Regions from separate parts of the Homo sapiens genome. Here region 2 is linked to region 1. Evidence: promoter capture Hi-C in 16 types of primary human blood cells and fetal thymus (Javierre and others, 2016). All regions are on one chromosome and are shown on one strand. Each heading gives the region's core, a stretch centred on a gene start or on the middle of the fragment in contact. The rest is flanking DNA. Distances are from core to core; before and after follow the strand shown. Region 1 holds the start of RPS4Y2 (ribosomal protein S4 Y-linked 2). Region 2 overlaps LOC107987347 (a long non-coding RNA gene).

Region 1 (5,286 bases), core at 860-3,359:
GACACAGAGGGAGGGAGGACTCGAAAGCCAAGAGATGGAACCCAAGTGGGGAGGAAACAAGCCAGGTATACGTAGAGGCTGGAGGAGGCGGTGTCTGATTTGCACAGGGCACAGTGGATTGGTTTGACAAGGCATGTCATTCACTTAGCCCACGAAAAAGCGGGCCCAACTACTCTAGTCTTTTAATATGCAAACGAAGGACGCCATGATGTTCTACACACGTGGGGATATGTGGGGGTGGCCATGTTGCCAGGAACATGTAGGGCAAGGGCAGGAGGGCACAGGAATTGCCATGTTTGGGTGGACCCAGTTTCTAATGGCCTACATTTGCATATCAAAGTTTGCCAGCCAAGCCCTAAGAGCCAAAGCTCTAAGAGCCCAGGCTTTGCTTCTAGACAAGAAACATTTCTAGAGCAGCTTTAATAGAAATGAAAACTTTTCCTCTCTATTTGCCTAAAATAATTTCTTAATAACTCCTACCACAAAAGCAGCAAAGGGACCTAAGTAATGGCAAAAGGAGTCTAGGAGTCTCAGAATAGAAGAGGTGAATACTAGTACAGAGCAAACAGTGTGGAGTTCAGATCTATTCCAGCCTGCTGTCTTGCTAGCTGGCACATACAGTGCCTATAGACTTGAATCAAGGAATTGAATGCAAAGACAAACAAAACATAACAACAAAAACATTTTAGGCACTGTTACGCGCTTACAAATTGGTAAAAATGGTCGATGTTACTGTGTTGTGTTCTCTCTACAGTTAAAGGAAAAAGAAAAGAAAAGCTGGAGGCCAGGCTTGGTGGCTCATGCCTGTAATCCCAGCACTTTGGGAGGCAGAGTCGGTGGTTCATGAAGTCAGGAGTCTGACACAAGCTTGGCCAACACAGTGAAACCCTGTCTATACTAAAAGTACAAAAAAACAGCCAGGCCTGGTGGCGGGCGCCTGTAATCCCAGCGACTCAGGAGGCTGAGGCAGGAGAATGGCTTTAAGCCAGGAGGTGTAGGTTGCAGTGAGCCGAGATCGCGCCATTGCATTCCAGCCCCGGCGACAGTGCCAGACTCCGTCTCAATAAATAAATAAATAAATAAATAAAAATAAAAATTCCGTAAAGTGCTGGCAGGTGCCTGTGGGTCTCAGCACTGTGGGAGGCTGAGGTGGGAGGAACACTCAACCCCCGGAAAGTCGAGGCTGCCGGGACCTGAGATGGCGCCCCTGCCCTCCACCCGGTGCGACAGAGCCAGACCCTGCCACATTCAAAAACACAATAAAAGAAAGAAAGAAAAGGAAAAGAAAAAGAAAAAGAAAAGAAATACCTAGAAAATAACACAAGGAAATTTTTGATGGTGATGGAGATGTTTATTACCTCGATTGTGATGATGGTTCCGTGGGTTTACGCCTATGTCCGAACTCGTCAAACGGTACAGATTAAGGAAGTCCATTTGGCTGGTTGTGTTTTGTATAGCAATTCCACCTCAATAAAGCTGTGACATCACACACATGCGAGCGTGGTACAACTTACATAGCCGAGTTCACCTTTTTAAAAGTGAATTGTTTTGGAGGTTTTAGGGACATGCACAGAGTTGTGCAACCATCACCTCAAGTTAATGCAAAACAAGGTATTGAACTTACAATTCACGTCCCATAAAACCTACCCTTTCAAAGTTGACAATACAGACGATTTTAATACATTCTCAAACCTGTGAAATTGGCCCTAATTCAGAAAAACGAATTGTTTCTTAAATCATGATTTTACAATACAACATGTCACAGTCACAAGGAATCATACAGGTTATTTCTTAACGATTGGCTTTTTTTTTTTTAAGGCGGCTAAATCCTGCTCCTTCAGAGCTTCTGTTAAATATTTTTAAAGTTGGCGAAAGATAATTTTTAGAGTGTAAACTGCGTCCTCCCAGCTTAGCCGACCTGAGGGGAGGAAGCACAACAAAAAGTCCCGTGGCATAACTGACACCTATGAATCAGTATCAGAAACTGAATATGCTAAGAAACTCAGTTCCGAGCTGTGACCTCTACAACGGAAGAATAATAGGTTGGTTACCCGAGGCGGAATCTGGAACTGAAATTCTCACTCATTTGACTTCCCGCTGTTTATCACCGCAGATTACGGTTGCACCGTAAAAGGAGAGGTTCTGTTCCGTCGCGGGATTTCGCCATGGTAAGACGTCTGCGTCCTAGCTCCGGATTTATCTGCCTCCATCCTTTGAAGAAGGGCCTTCCATCTTGGCAAGCTTTTACTTTTCGGGTACCGCTGCTTGGCGGGTGGGAATGCTGCTGGTGCTGCTTCAGGAAACCCGATTTGGAGAGCGGAGGTCTGAGAAGAGTGCGGCTGGGGGTTCCGGGCTGGCCCTTGTGCTCGGCCTGGGCGCCGGTGGTGCTGTTGGCACGTGAGTCTTGTTAGGAATAAGCTTCCTCGGCTAACCTTACAAGTCCACCCTTGACTCCGCAGCCCAGCACTGGCTTTTTACGCGGGTTAGCTTATATCCATACGTTGAAGCAGTCTCAGATTCGCTTGGAGAGCACTGTGGACGCTGTCTTGACAGACGCCAGAGAGACTCGTGAGGTTGTCAAAGGTCTGGGAGTTTTGCGGGGTTTGTTCTGGAGTCTGGCAGGAAGTAATATTTGCTCAAAACTGGGCGTGAAATAGCCTGGACTGTCCTTTCTCCTCCGATCCGGTATTACCCGTTAGCAGTTGTTACAGCTGAAGATAAAGACATTTTACTGTTAACTGAGACGAGTTTCTCTGAAAAAGTTTGGTGTCTTTTTCAGGCCCGGGGCCCCAAGAAGCACTTGAAGCGTGTTGCAGCGCCGAAGCATTGGATGCTGGATAAACTAACTGGTGTATTTGTGAGTATAACTGTATTTGCTTTTTACTCAAAAGTGCATGCTGTGTACCTGTGGCTTGCTATTTCGTGGGAACACTGTTTGCTTATTTATGTGAGATTTTCGTTGGTGAAGACTTGCTGCACACGGAACTTGTCCTTGCACTGTAATGAAAAGGTCCCTGAGAAAAAAGTTAGGACATCCTGTTTGGAAACAGCGGGTCGAACAGCTCTCTGACCTCAACTTTGAGCACTATTGTGGTCCATAATGTCGCTGAGAACCTGGGCTTGCCATCTTTTAGTAACTATTGAGAGCCTAATACATGCCAGGTGTTGTTATGTGGGCCCACCCTTAAGGATATGTCCGGGTACAAAATGGTTGGACAACAAAATCTATCCCTCTTTCTTGTTGAAGCTTACATCCTGCTGGGAGGAGAGGGAAGTTACAGTATGTTCACAGGTGCTGAAGGCTGGGGGGAGAAAAAAGTAGGGCTGTTGGAAGGATCAATGGGGTTTTGAGCACTGCAGTTTTAAAGAGTGTGAAATAAAGAAGCCTCTTACAGAAGAACAGAAAGACATAAGTGAGTGAACTATTGGACATGTTTGGGGTTTTTTTTTTTTTTTTTTTTGAAACTGAGTCTTGGCTTGTCACCAGGCTGGAGTGCTGTGGCATGATCTTAGCTCACTGCAACCTCTGCCTCCGGGTTCAAGCGATTCTCATGCCTCAGCCTCCCCAGTAGCTGGGATCTTTTAGTCACCACGCCGATCTAAATTTTGTATTTTTAGTAGATACCAAGTTTCACCCTGTTGGCCAAGATGTTCTCAATTTCCTGACCTTCTGATCCACCCGCTGGTGGCCACTCCCACAGTGCTGGGATTATAAGCATTAGCCATGGCGCCCCTCATATTTTCAAAAGAGCTGTTAGGCTGCTGTGTTGTGATTTATTCAAATTGTGTTATATCATGAACCCATTTCTTGAGGCTTGTGCTCTCAAGGATTAAAAATGCCAACAGCAACAACAAAACACCAGGATGTCAAGTCCTGGTGGTCTCTTTTGCTGTTTGAGCTCTCCACTTTAGAGGGCACTTCCTGAACCCAGACCTGAGGGGATTAATGAATGTGCTAAATTCCAGATAAGAAAGGGTTCAGTGACAGTGCACTGAGTCCCCATTAATAATAAAATGTATTTAATTTGAAGTTACCCTTTGTTTCAGAGGGTGGAGTAGCTGCTGTTTACATTGAGCCCAAGATACGGTTTTAACAGTAACGGCTACTGGGGTCCATGCAACACAGGCAAGAAATTGCGTGAGAAATGCAGGAGTCTCTTGAACTCAACCTTGAAGACCTGGCAGGATGAGGACAGTATGCCCAGAGGCAAAGGAGGCAAGCATCTGACAAGAGGCGGACTAGGCAGTTTCCACATTGGTGGTGTGGTAACAATGGGAGAGAGGGGTTGAAGCCATAAGAAAGTCTTGGGTCTTCTGAGACAGAAAGGGAGCCAGTGTGAAGAAGCAGACAGAAGCGAGGTGATTAAGATGCCAAAAGTTTTGTTGGGCAGGAATAAACATAGGGCATCTAAGAGAAAATAATGCAGCCCTGAGGGTCCACATCCACATAATAGGCACTTGGTAACTAACTTGATAGATTACGTAGCCTTTTCTTGGGACTTAGAACTCTGAACACTGAGTAGCAGAAATTTGTCTTCCTTGTCTTGGCATTTTCGGAGAGAACATGGACTCTGTGTTGTTTGCAGAGCTGGATTTGCAAACTTTCCGTGTCAGTTTCTGCTTCCAAGTCTTATCTCTGCTACTGCCCCCTAGTGTCTGACCTCCCAGGTTGGGCCCCTGTTCCCTCTATTGTTAAGTGGATGAGCAAGGCACTCTCTCTCTTTTTTTTTTTTTTTTTTTTTTTTTGAGACGGAGTTTCAGTCTTGTTTCCCAGGCTGGAATGCAATGGCACAATCATGGCTCACTGCAACATCCGCCTCCTGGATTCAAGTGATTCTGCTGCCTCGGCCTCCCAAGTAGCTGAGATCACAGGCATGTACCACCAAGCCCAGCTGATTTTGTATTTTTAGTAAAGATGGGGTTTCTCCACATTGGTCAGGCTGGGTCAAACTCCTGACCTCAGGTGATCTGCTTACCTTGGCCTTTTAAAGTGCTGGGATTACAGGGGTGAGCCGCTGCACCTGGTCAAGGCACTCTTTTTAAGAAGACTTGCTGGGAACTTAGTCCTCAGTCTTCTGGGCTCCACTCTTTTCCCCATGGCGTCGATGGAAGTGTGTGGTTAATGATTGAGTCCATTTTAAGAGGGATAAAGCTAAATAGGCATCTGTAGAAGGAGCTTTAAGAACAGCCTTCATTAGAAAGGATTCCTGTGTGGCCTCAGCTTAAGAGATAATTGAGGAGTGGAGTTAAAGGCAATACAGCCCCAGAGCTTGAGACCTTTACAGG
Region 2 (5,286 bases), core at 1,762-4,261, 510 kb after region 1:
CAGCCTGGGCAGTACAGCAAGACTCCATCTCAAAAAAAAAAAAGAAAGAAAAAAAAGAAAAATCTACTGAGCATACAAAATACATTAGAAACTTTTAATAATAGACTAGATATAGCAGAAGAAATAATCTTAGAACTTGAAGACATATCTACTAAAATAATCCAGTCAGAAAAATATGAAGAAAAACTATTAAAAATGTTTAGCACAGGCTTTGAGTCATTTGGGACAACATAAAATGACCCAATGTAGAAACAATCATTATTTATAAGAGTGAAAGAAAATTAAAAGGTCCAGAATATTATAGAAATCAAATGTACATGTTAAGCTAGCCTTGGGAAAATAAAATTTATTGTCAGTTGTTACTCCTGTGACTGACTGAAGACATTTCCATGACACCTTATCTAGTTAAAAAAGCAAAGTAGTATGTAGACAATCACTCTTTGAACATATTATCTGGGATGGAACAAGGAGTAGAACAGAAAGTAAAGGAAAACTCCATATGCTGGGAGAGATTAGAAGGTCAGGCAGCCTATGTGGCCAGGACCAGCCAAAACCTGGGAATAAATACTCTATATAGAAGATAGGTGAGTATCTTTTGGCAGCCTACTTTTTAGTTGGATCTTAAAGTACAGACCATATGACAGCACCGTGATTCCGTCAGCCCCTGAATTTAACTTGAGAAGTCACTGGGAGACAGTGAGTAAAAACTTCTCTGAAAAGCATAACATACTTAGTGACTTGGGTAAGATGCCATTCTTGATCCTAGCAAATTGTGGCTGGTTTTGGGAGCTAGCAACAGCAGCACCTCTTGGCATCAGAAAAACTTAAGCTGTATATAATGCAATGGGACTCAAGTGGGAAATATGATCCCACAGCCGGAACTAATAAAAAATATGGAGTGGGTTCTAGCCTCTAGCACTATACCTGGCCTTCCTCCAATTCCACGAGTTGAGCAAAAGAAGAGCTCTTAAGGATGTTTGATGAGTTACCAGCTAATGTCTCCTATGACCCAGGCTATGATGGTGTACATCAGCAAACTGCAGTGACTAAATAAATATCCACAATCTTGTCACAGTTGGCTTAGAGGGAATGAAGTCTGCTGGGACTGGGAGGTGAGAAGAAAGCAGGTTCCATTTCACCAACAAATACTTTGGTGCTGGAAATGCATGCTTTTGTTTGTGATGAGAGCTCAGCCTAGGAGTAGTTGCCTATTGCCCAGACATTTTGACAGAACAATGAGGACTCTTTCATTTTTAACATCAGGGCTCGTGCCTGCACCTGCCTTTGAGGCCTGATTGCAGGATTTACTAGTCCAGCTATGGATAGCTTTACCACATTCTCTGAGACACAGTGTGGGATCCAGGCCACTGGTCATTCCACAGCTGAATTCACCCACTGAAATATCCATGCACTTTTCTCAGAGAACAGTTGATAGACAAAATCTTACTGTTGTAGTTTTGCCAGTGTAACAAGATGAAGCAGTTTCTCGTTTGTGATGACATCTGGAGTTTTTTGTTCTACCCTCAAGAAAATTAAGGAGTGCAGAACAGTATAGTGAGGTTGGAGCAAAAGTTAAATAAGTGAAATAAGAAAGTTCTCTGCCAGAAGAGAGGGATTCTTGAATGAGTTACTCCACATGAGGCTGAGGTTTAGGAATTTTATGAACTGGGAAGGGGAAGGAGGAATGTGCTTAGTCTGCAAGCTGTCCTGGATAGTGCTGACTTAGCTTGGCCTGGGACCAGTTAAAAACTTGGCCAAAGACCTTGGCCCAGGACAAATCAGAGGCTGAACTGATGATTTATAGACTCTGTTTAGCTTGGCCAGGGATCTATTTAGAAGCTGAAGTGAAAGCTTAACCCAGGACCTTGGACCAGAGCCAATCTTAATCCAGAACTTGGGCCAGGGGCTGAAGTGATGCTTTACAGAGTCTGGGCTCACACTTTGCACAAGAAAGCAAACTATCCATTGAAACCCACTGGAGCCCACTGTGTTTATGATCACAAAATGAGAAAAAACTTCCTGGGAACCTACAGATTATACAAAGGATAATGGCATTCTTATGTTAGGTCTTATTTCCTTATCTGAGTGAACAAGAGGTTTGTACAAATTTTTATCTGAATGGGCTGGGATTTACCGTATTTGTGCAGCCATGGGCATGTCTCCAGGTACAACAGCCTGTGATAGTTTCCTTATGATGCCTGCAGCTTGATTTTTTTTCCAGCCTGCTTTGTTTCTTGCATGGGGATGAGGAACTGACCCATGGGTTGGGGACTGTCCAGAGTCTCTTCCCTTGTTACCTACCTAAGGCAAACTAACAGTCTCCTTTCATTACCACCATATTAGCAGCTGGCTCTTGTCTTCAATCATTACTTATTGCACTTGAGGCCAGCCCACAAAGCCCACTGTAAAAATTGCTAACACAAGAGTACAGAATGTGGGAAAAAGGAGAGCTTCTCAAGTCACTGGTAGCACTCTTGCCTGGTCACTCCAACTAATAAAAGGGTTTTACCCAACTCATCCACCAGCCAAATTGATACTACAACTAGGATTTCACCACATGACAACATTCCACTGAACCACAAATAAAAAGATTGAGAATAAAAAAAATCAACTAGAAAAAAAATTAAGCATATAATGAAGATAAAACCTCACATATCAATATTAACCTTGAATGCATAATCGCTAAATATTTATAATCCAATTAATAGCTCTATTTGGTTGAGAGGCTGAGGTGGGTGGATCACGAGGTCAGGAGATCGAGACCATCCTGGCTAACATGGTGAAACCCGGTCTCTACTAAAAGTACAAAAAAAAAAAAATAGCTGGGTGTGGTGGCGGCCGCCTGTAGTCCCAGCTACACGGGACGTTGAGGCAGGAGAATGGTGTGAACCTGGGAGGCAGAGCTTGCAGTAAGCCGAGATCGTGGCACTGCACTCCAGCCTGGGCTGGAAAAAACAGTCTCAAAAATAAATAAATAAAATAAAAAATACTGTATTTGGTCAGGCACAGTAGCTCACACCTATACTTCTGGCATGTTAGGGAGGCCAAGGTGGATGGATCACTTTAGTCAAGGAGTTTTAGATGAGCCTGGACAACATGGTGAAAACCCATCTCTACAAATAAAATGCAAAAATTAGCAGGGCATCATGGCATGTTCTTGTAGTCCCAGCTAATAAATAGGCCGAGGTGGAAGGATGGCTTGAGCTCCTGAGACACAGGTTGTAATGACTAAATAAATATCACACAACAACACTCCTGATTGGGCAACAGTGCCAGACCCTTCTTCAAAAAAAAAATATATATACACACACACATACACACACACATATATATTTGAAAAAGTGAATAAAAAATGTTCACTGCCTACAAGAAATTCAGCTTCCCTCTAAAGACAAATATAAACTAAATGTATACAAACAGAGAAAGATAATCCAAAAAACCTATAAAACAAAAGTTAGCAGAAGTGGCCACACTTAAATGAGAGAAAATTCTTTGAACTTAAAAGTAATCCAAAAAACCTATAAAACAAAAGTAAGCAGAAGTGGCCATACTTACATGAGAGAAAATTCTTTGAACTTAAAAGAGTAAAAAATATTAAAATGTCCATATATAATGATAAGAAATTGATTCAGAAGGTGAATAAAACAACTAAGTACACATCAAACACTATTGCTTCTAGATTTATGAAACAGATATTACTAAATAAAGAGATAACAATGCAATACTATGGGAAAGTTTAGCACACCACTTAGAGGATTAGATAGACCAGTGAGACAGAAACCCAAAAAGAAAGCCTGAACTTGTTAAATTAAACATTTCACAAAAGAGACCTAACAGATGTATACAGAAATTATATCAAAAAACTTCTGCAAAATGTAAATTCTTATTAGTACATGCCATTTGATTAAGAGAGATTATATGTTAGGCCACAAAACAAGTCTTAATAAATTTTAATAATTCAAGATCATATTAATGTCTGCTTTGACCACAGTGTAATAAGCCAAAAATTAATACCAAGAACTTTGAAAACTGTACAAATACATGAAAAGTAAACAACATGCACTTGAATGATCACTGAATCAACAATGACAATAAAATGATTTTAGCTGAAATAAATTGAAAAGAAAACACAACATACCAGTCTCTGATAAACTCCAAATAGTATTAATAAAGAAGCTTACACTACTCAGTGCCTACATTAAGAAACAAAAACAATAAAAAATTAACAGCCTATTATTGCACCTCAAAAAACTAAAAATAAATAAATAAATAAAAACAAAAAAAACAAACTCAGTGTTAGCAGAATAAAAGACATAGCAAAGATCAGAGAAAAACTAATAATAGAAAGCAAAAACACAATACCAAAAATTAACAAAATGAAAAGTTGTTTATTTGAAAAGACAAATACAACTAATAAACCATCAACTAGAATAACAGAGAAAACAGAAGATAAAAGATGCAAGTAAACAAGTTGAAAATGAAAAAGAAAACATTACAACAAGTGTCACAGAAATAGAAAAGTGTATTAAGAGACTGCTATGGACATCTGTGAATTCAGAAACTAAAAAACCTAGAGAAAATGGTTAAGTTTCTGGAAACATGAAGCCTTCTAAAATTGTAACTAGAAAAAGGAGAAAACCAAAACATATCAAGAATGAGTAGCAAGGTTGAATAACTATTTTTTTTAAAACCCAAAGGGAAGTACAAAAACATACAAATTTACAGACAAATTTCAGTAGCCATACAAAGAACTAATGCCAATTTTTCAGAATCTATTTCAAAATTTGAAGAGAAGATACTTATTCTCAGCTCATTCTATGAAGTGAATATTATCATCATACTAATACCAGAAAAAGACACACTCATACACACAAGACATGCACAAATCCAAAACAACAAAACATATTCATTATGAGTGTGGCCACAAAGGTTCTTAACAAAATATCAGCAAACTGAACCCATTGGCACAATAAAAAGAATTATACATTATGAGCATGTGGTTGATATACCAGGGATGAAGGGACAGTGCATTACATTTAAATCAACAGAAGTAATAGAAATAATAGTTTTCTTTAAAAATTTGCCTATCTTTATAGATAAAAACATTTGATCAAAGGATTTCCTTATGAAAAAAAAAACCCTTATCAGACTAGGCTTATACAGAACATACCTCAAAATACCATCTATAATAAACAATCTATAATAAACCAATAGCCAGCATCATATTGACTGAGGAAGAATTGAAACTTTATCTGTAATTACTGGTAACAGACAAGAATGCTGATT

Evidence for each region. The method cuts DNA at HindIII sites, captures the fragments that hold promoters and counts their contacts. A CHiCAGO score of 5 or more calls a contact.
Region 2: a fragment that was not itself captured here is called in contact with the fragment with the promoter of RPS4Y2 in region 1 in 3 of 17 cell types (neutrophils, total B cells and naive B cells); the score reaches 10.2 in neutrophils.

What each region holds. Positions count from the first base shown.
Region 1 is chrY:20,753,999-20,759,284 of GRCh38, forward strand. RPS4Y2 (ribosomal protein S4 Y-linked 2) reads left to right here and starts at 2,110. Exons shown (of 7, transcript NM_001039567.3): 1 at 2,110-2,168; 2 at 2,780-2,857. The coding sequence starts at 2,166. The HindIII fragment of the contact is 1,374 bases long and covers 866-2,239 here.
Region 2 is chrY:21,265,217-21,270,502 of GRCh38, forward strand. All of the region lies in intron 2 of LOC107987347 (a long non-coding RNA gene), which reads right to left. Among named protein-coding and RNA genes, the nearest start is that of PRORY, 180 kb to the right of the region's middle. The HindIII fragment of the contact is 2,325 bases long and covers 1,850-4,174 here.